Linked DNA regions of Homo sapiens: region 1 is linked to region 2. Evidence: promoter capture Hi-C in human tissues and cell types (Jung and others, 2019). All regions are on one chromosome and are shown on one strand. The core of a region is centred on a gene start or on the middle of the fragment in contact, and the rest is flanking DNA. Distances in the headings are between cores, read along the strand shown. Region 1 overlaps PTPRT (protein tyrosine phosphatase receptor type T). Region 2 holds the start of PTPRT (protein tyrosine phosphatase receptor type T).

Evidence for each region. The method cuts DNA at HindIII sites, captures the fragments that hold promoters and counts their contacts. A contact is called where the count stands out against the background at its distance.
Region 1: a fragment that was not itself captured here is called in contact with the fragment with the promoter of PTPRT in region 2 in 1 of the 25 tissues and cell types used here (dorsolateral prefrontal cortex).

The regions. Positions count from the first base shown.
Region 1 is chr20:42,773,725-42,777,452 of GRCh38, forward strand. The region is part of intron 4 of PTPRT (protein tyrosine phosphatase receptor type T); the gene reads right to left. Among named protein-coding and RNA genes, the nearest start is that of PTPRT-AS1, 190 kb to the right of the region's middle. The HindIII fragment of the contact is 9,444 bases long and covers 1-3,728 here.
Region 2 is chr20:43,188,568-43,192,787 of GRCh38, forward strand. PTPRT (protein tyrosine phosphatase receptor type T) reads right to left here and starts at 1,339. Exons shown (of 31, transcript NM_007050.6): 1 at 1,079-1,339. The coding sequence starts at 1,166. It overlaps PTPRT-DT (PTPRT divergent transcript), which reads left to right and starts at 1,498. Exons shown (of 3, transcript NR_186414.1): 1 at 1,498-1,683. The HindIII fragment of the contact is 13,787 bases long and covers 1-3,601 here.

The DNA of each region.
Region 1 (3,728 bases), core at 752-3,251, 410 kb before region 2:
TTAAAATGGGAATAGAGTGAACCTTGGAAGCCTGTTCATGCCACAGGCTTAAAGGGGGAGTGAACACATCCACCCCAGGTGGGGAGGGAGTGCAGAGTCTTAGCTCCAATGCTGGGAAACTCTGTGTTTAGTTTTACAAAGAAATGCTCTTCCCTTACCCTTCGAGAAAATGGTTTAACCTCTGGGATATGCACAATTAGCAATGAATCTTTTCTGGATCAATGTCCCCAGCATGCCTCTGACTCCTCTCCACTTCTTCCTTCTCAGCAACAGACCTTTTGCCTTGATTCTTTCATCTTCAATTCCTCTTCTTCCCTTCCTTCTAGGTTCAGTGGTAGAGAGTTTAGATGTTTAATGGCTCCTAGTGTGAATATTCTGGGGAAATACTGGCAATTTACAGCAGAGATAATGAACGCATGCACCTACAAGAGCCAGTTATGTAAATTAATAAAGTCGTTCAGCTGTAAAACAAAACAAAAATACCACCTCCTTGCCCCATCTTTTACTTTCCCACTTTTGATAGAGACTTGAGAAAAATAAAGATTTCTTTATATAAGAAAAGCAATGTTGTAAGCACAATAACTGGTATCCACCAGTAGCCTCAGCACTGAGGAGACAATAAGGAGTGGTGAGGACTGGAGGGAACTGGAGAGAGACTCTGAAAGGGGACACTGAAAGGGGGCAGCTCCTACTTAAATTCAGCAGAGGAAGGCCAGGCATGCATGCTTTGTATAGGGGTGTCAAACGTCTGATTTCTCCAGGCCAGTAAGAAATCCAGACTTTATATGAAATCTCTCACTCTAAACTCAACATGTTATTAAAACACAGTACAGGCTTAACAAAACATGTGTACATGCAGGCTCTATCAATCTGCGGTCCCTGATATGTAGCTCTTATGAAAGTCCTCTGCAACAATTTCCACTAGCCAGTCTCACCCGATCCAGCCCCATACATTCAGGGATGCCCCCACCACTCCATGCGGTACGCGGTGGGCATCACATGAAGGCCAACCCCGAGTACAGTTCCCAGCACAGGAGCTGATCTAGGCTACCCTCTTCTTGCTCAAGACCCTTGTCTCTGCTCCTTGGGGCTCTGGGTCATCCTTGGCTCATGACAGGCAGTGCTCTCTGGTGATTGTGCTTATGTGGGGGGCCTGTATGGTCCTCTTCCCTGCGTTCCTGGCCTCTCTGACCCTCCTTTTTCCATGCCCCCAAACGGCCTGCTCATCAGCCGCAAGCTCTCTCAACTGTCACCTTCCCCCAGCATCTGCTGCTCTGGGAGAGAACTTATATTCCACGAGCTTCAAATCACTCATCTTCAGCCAAACATGGTTGACCTTGGTACCCAGGTCAGCCATCGGCTCGTGGTTCTAAGCATTTCCTACTCACTCCACACTGAGACCCAATTCCCCCCAGATGGGATGCCACTGAATGGGCTTAACAGAAGACTGGCTGTGCATTTGGGGCAAAAATGCCTTGACGTTAGTGACATTTAGACGCCTACAGATGTCAGTGCAGCATCTGAAGACATATTATTGTGCCCTTTATCTTGCTCTTTAAACCTGACAGTGCTCAGTAGGAAGCCACACAATTGTGGAGAAAGCCCAGTACGCACATTAGAAACATGTTGCAGATGCTCTGTGGGCTCGGGGACACGGCCCCACAAGATTGTGAGGGAGAAAGAAAAGTCAACTTAGAAGCTAGAAACTTTGAAACGGAGTGGAAAAATCATACTGACATTTATCTTACACAGTTATAACTGCCTTGGCCCTGCTAATGGCTAACACTGAGAAACAGCAACAGAGGGTAACTAAGGATAGAATACTTTTAGAATAACACAAAAATGTTAAATGGGCTATAAAATATAGATGAGAGGCTTCCGTTTGTAAGAGAAAATAATTTCTTTGAGTATTATGCCTGTCTTTTGGTTACTGTTTTGGGAGCTTGGAGGCAATTATCTACAGTTCTAATTTCAGTGCCAATCAATTGAAGATACAATTGCAAATCAGTCACTCGCTCCCTGGAACTTTTGGAATACTTAGTGGAATCACTTATTGATAAACTCTGACCATATGTTAATAGAAAATATGTTTTAGAGGACAGAAAGGGATAATTAAAAAGACTTTATGTCCACAGGCTTTTTTGAATTGAACGCATATATTTCAATATAGTTCAATTTTTAACCATCTATGAGTGAAGTCATAAATTCTAAGACTGGAGGCTGGGGAAAAGCACCTTTAGTCTAAAGGAGAGTTCAGAAGCTACTATCCACTTGCATGACAGGTAATCCCTGTAAGCAGTCCCTGGGGCCCACAGGGCCCCTCACCAGGCAGCCTGCTCAGTTCTTCCCAGGCTCTCACCACCTTGCTTAAGCTACAAATCTGTGAGTGCACTATCTCCGATGCCTGACTCTTAATCCAATTTATCAAATGAGACCAGTTGGCTCTGCCTCCTAAATGGATCGCTAATCTCTGCACCTCTATCCACCTCTATGCTCTAAGTTTCTTCATTGTCCTGCTCATAATTTGTCATGGTCTGAACTGTGTCTCCCCCAGATTTATCTTTTGATATATGACCCCAACCCCCAGTATCTCAAATGTTCCTATTTTTAGCAGCAGGGCCTTTAAAGACATGATTAAATTAAAATGAGGCCTTTAGGGAAAGCCCTAATCCAATCCAATCTGACCAGTATTCTCAACAGAGGAGGACATTTGAATGCACCGGGAGACACCAAAGGATTGTAAGTACAGAGGAATGACCATGTGAAGCCTCAGCAAGAAGGCAGCCACCTGCAAGCAAAGAAAGAGCCTCAGGAGAAACTACGGTGGCCAACACCTTGACCTTGAACTGCCAGCCTCCAGAACTGTGAGAAAATAAAATACATTTAAGTTGCTTAAGCCATCCAGTCTGAGGGGTTTTGTTATAGCAGCTTTAGCAAACTAACGCACTGTCTGTGCATATAATTATATAATCATATCATATAATTATATAAGCATATCATATAATTATATATGATATGCTTATATAATTATAAATGTATATATGATATATAAATGTAAATTATATGATTATATAATTATTTATATACTATAACTCACATTTATATAATATATACTTCTATATAATGCTTGTACAATTATATAATATATAGATTATAATAATATAATCATATAATTACTTTATTTGTTTTGCTTCAGCCTCCTTCACTTCAATAGAAGTCCATGAAGACAGACAGTCAATCTGTCTTTCTCACTCCCACAAACCCAGAATGGTGCCTGACATGGAGCTCACGCTCAGTAAATACTTGTTGGATGATGAATGGATGTCTCTCAGTCACCCTGGTGCGGGCCACCACCACCTCTTGCATGGCTCCAGAACTTTCTTCCTCCTAGGTCTCCCGACATCTTCTCTATGGTCCTCCAACACAGAGCAGCCCAAGTGACCCTTCTCCAGCAGCACTCCCTGCAGCAGAGCCTCCCTGCCCTTAGACAAACATTTAAACTACTCACGATGCTGCCCAAAGTCCAGGCTTTCCTGCCCAACATTTGCCCTGACCACCTTCTCCTGTGCCCTGTATGCTCAGGACATGCTGGCAGCATCAAGCCAACTCCGTGTGCAGGGCCTCTGCAACCACTATCTCCTCTGTCTGAAGCACCCCTCCACCAAATCACTAGACTGTGAACTCCCTCCTGTGATTTGAGTCCCAGCCCAGGTCACATTTTCAAAGAT
Region 2 (4,220 bases), core at 89-2,588:
GCGATCCGAAACCAGCCTGTTCCTGCGTCCCACGGGCTGATCTCAGCCTGTCCCCGCAATCCCAGCCACCTCAGGCCGGCGTGGTTACACCAAAAGCAATCGGTGCTAAGAAACTTTAAGGTGATTTTGAACTTGGAAGTACACCTGCAGCACTCCCTTCTCTTCCCTCCGCCGCTACTCTTGGGGGGGGGGGGGCTCGGGGGTGGAAGCTGCCTGCGGTGGGGCTTGGTGATGTGTAAGACCCTGGACTGTGGTGCCCTCCAGCACCCGCCAACGTGCCTTTAGGAGCACGGCAGGCACCACCCCCCCGCCCCCGCTCCCCCTACTCTGGGGAACTACCTCTGCTCACCGCCTTCCCGTGGCCAAACCCAAATATGAGTTCCCCGAACTTTTCAGGAGCGGACGCGCTCACGGGTCAAATCCACTCCCCTCCAAGGGCCTTAACACGGGCGCCCAGCTACCTCGGAGAAAAGCCAGCGGGTAGGGCGGAGGTATTGCTCTCGGTCATCAACGCAAACATCCCCTCGGGTGCCTACAGCGGCCTGCTTAGGGGAGCAGCGTGTTCAGAGCAAATGGAGAGCTTCCTGTATCTCCGAGGAAAAAAGAAAAGCCGCCGCCCCGGCAGCCTCGGCCTGCTGGGGACCTGTCCTCCCCACTAAAAGCGCGCGCTGCCCGAGGAGCTGCCCGGGAGAGAACGCTCCACCCCGGGCGTCGGTGCCGCTCCTCGTCTCGCCGCCCCAAACACTCAAGTGGCAGATTCCGACAAGTGGGAGGCAGCAAGTGGAAATATTCGCAACAACCGCGGAAAGTTACTCCAGCCCGGGGGGCCGGCAGGAAACTGAAGCGGGGAACTTCGCCAAACGCGGGCTGCCGAGGGACGCGAGGGGCCGGGCTCGCTGGCCGGGGCGCGCGGGGACACTGCTTCCCGCGCCTGCAAGCTGAGACCCGGGTTCCGGCCATGGGGACCCGCGCCCCCGCGAGCCCACACAACTTTCTCCTCCGAGGGCCCCGCGGCTGGGGGCCCGCGCGCATCCAGGAGGGAGCGGGGAGCCCAGGGGAGCCGGGCGGGCGCACTCACCTGCGGCGCTCTGAGCCCGGGCGCCGGGCAGTGGCGGCAGCTGCAGCCTCAGGAGCAGGCTGAGGGCGAGCGCGGCGAGGCTCGCCATCCGGGCGGCGGCGGGCAGCTCAGCCCCTTCCCGCGGGGGCCGGGGCCGGGACTGGGGCGGGCGCGGGGTGGCCCCGCATCGCCGGCGCGGCCGCTGGCTGTGCGCGCGGCTGGCTCCGCTCGGGCTCCCGGAGCCGGCGCTCCTGCGTTCCAAGCCGAGGCGCGGCGCGAACTGAGGCGGGAGGCTGGGCGGGGGCGGGACGCGGGGGGCGGGGGGCGGTGTCCCCCGAGTCCTAACGCCGCCGCCGTTGCCGCCGCCGCCGCCGCCGCCGCCCGCCCGGGCGCTCCGCCTCGGCCGTGCACACACCCTCACGCGCACGCCCGCGCCTGGCACACGCCCGCGGCTGGCACACGCGGGCTCCCCCGCGCACCCTCTCCGGGGCCGACCAGCTCGGGCCGCTGGCACAGTCACGCGCGTCCACACATCACCCCCGCACCCACACGCCGGGCAGGGTCCTCGCCTCTTCGCCCCGCGCCGCGCCGCGCAGCCAAGCATCGTCTGCCCTGTGGGGGCGCAGGTACGGGGGCGGTGCGGGGAGGAGGAAGCTGCAGCAGCCGTTTGAACTCGGGGTGGGGAACAGGTGAATGGGGGTTCGGTGGCGAGAAGAGGGAGGGAGGGAGCAGCCCTCGCAACTCAAGATAAGGGGCCAGGTGAATTGCGAAAGCGGGTGGGGGCGTCTGCCCAAAGCTGGGGCAGGCGGCTGCTGGCCAGGGTCTCGGGCACACCCTGAGATGAGAATTTCATCTAAGAGCGCGCGCGCGCACACACACACAACCCACTCACACTCTTCTGGGCGCATCGCTGACCGCGCCACAATCGTCGTCCCCCTCAATTAGCCGCCCACCCCACCTTCTTCTTCACCCACATCTCTCTCTTGTCCCCACCACCACGCGGAAGGGGGCGCAGAAGGGGCATGAGGCATCCCCCCACCCCCTACAATTTTTCCCTGGCAGCCTTCCCTTTCCTTTTCTAGGGAGACAGAACCTTGTAGCTTTTTCCCTTTTCTTCTCGGTCTTAACAAAGACCTGGTTGGGGCTGAAAGCCTAAAACCATAGATCAGGGTTGGAGCTGTCCCTGGCAGCCCACGGCCCACAGCCTGGCTCTCTGCTGTCCTGGGAGGCAGCTGGTACCTGAGTCTTGGCTGGGGGTCTGAGATGTAAAAGCCAGGGGCAGGGATACCCAGAAATGCTTAAGGGATTCACACTTTGTGAACACTTTGCTACCTGGCCAAAGCCCTCCTTCTTCTGTGTCAGCACAGCCCCCCACCCCCATCCTTGTTGGGGTACCAGGGACTGGACTGGGGAGACTGTAAGTGAATTGTGAAAATCAAGCATGGCAGGGTTTCCAAAAGTGGGGAGCCCCAGGCTCTGGACCCAAGTTGGCATGGCAGAGAACACAGGGCGTCACTCTGTCAGTCCCCAGTTCCCAGTCCCCACTAGGTAAAGTGGCCCAGTTCCCTGGCATGGAAGCCCAATTTACAATCCCAGGCAAATTCTTCCACCCCTCTCCGGACCCCGACTCCCACCACCACCACCATGACCGTGACCACTTTCAAAAGCTGACGTGCTTGGACTAGCCTGTTGGACCAGCCAGTGCCTCCCACACTTGCCTGGTCAAAGAACTACCAGGAAGATTTCTCCAAGTCCTGCTTCCCAGACCCCTGCTGGGGAGAGTGGAATTTGGCAGGCCTGTCGGGGGTGGCCTGGGAGTTGAACCTTTTACAAGCTGCTTTGGAGATTAATAATTCTACCAATATTTATGGTGCATTTAATTGTGTGCCTTACTCTGTGCTGTTCTCTGGGGATACCACAATGCTATAGCCCTTAGGGACAATTGGAATGGAAAGATCCCTTCTGCTCAGAGCTGAGCTTCCAGCTGTTTGCTCCATCACTCACTCATTCTAACCCTGCCTTGGGCAGATGAGCAGTTAGGAAGTGTGCGAGGAGAGGCCTGACCCAAGACCACCACAAGCGACCCCAGTCATGGCAGATCCCAGGGGATGACCCGGGTGGGGAGATTTCTAAGCCACTAAAGAGCTTGGTGTCACACTTGTAACTTGTTGCCACTTTCTTGGGCTCCTGCCAATTCATCCCCTCTCTCAAGCTTTCTGGAAAACTATAAAATAGCAGTTCTCACAGCATCCTCAGAGCAACGCCCTTTGGCACCCCCCTGCACTCCTGCTTTAGGGATGTGATATCACTGCAGACAAATCCCCCAGGTCTGAATGGGGTTCATGTGGCCCCGAGGGGAAAAAAAAAATTCAGTAGTCACTGAGCTGGTGGAGTGGGACCTGATCCTGCACCAGGACTTACCTGCCCAGGTGCACCGTGGTCATGAACCGTGACCCTCTGTGCTTTCTAAACCTCCCTCTACTCCGAGAAACTGCCCCCTCTCCTTCAGTAGCACGTGCTGCCACCTGCTGCCCGGCCAGGCTCTGGCACCCACAGCACTGCCACGCTTTTGCACCGGCCAGTCCCTCTGCCTGGAAGCCCTGCACTGTATCATCTCCCTGGGAAACTCACACTAGCCCTTAGGGCTTCCCTTTGGAACTTTGGCCAGCGGGCCCTTCCTGCTCAAGGCATGTTCCCCAGCGCAGGTCACTGTGGTGGTGCTTTTTACATTGTGGAAATGTTGTCTCCTCTTCATGTGTTCTACAAGACTTGAGTTGCCAAAGGGAACCTGGACACTTACCACAGGGCTGCTAGGAGATGGGGGTGTGGGGGTGGAGAGAGAGGGCTGGCACAGGGCTGAAGATGCCTTACACAAAGCTTCCAGCTAGCTGGCTTCTCAGGGGAGGGAACTAATGGAAAGTTACAGCATCATCTCCCACCCTCCTGCACAGGGAGCCCTCTTTCCCCTCTGACCCCATCAGCCCAGGGAGCTGGGACATGACCAAGATTTGCTTGGCTAGGGGCTGGGCCCAGCATTGCATCAGTGCTGAAGGAAGGAGGCAGGGTGAGCTTTGTAAGAGATGGCATTCTGCCCTACAAACTCTTTTAGTTATGCTCAGACAGCAGGCCTCTTATCTTTGGACTGTGTCCTTAACCCCATGAA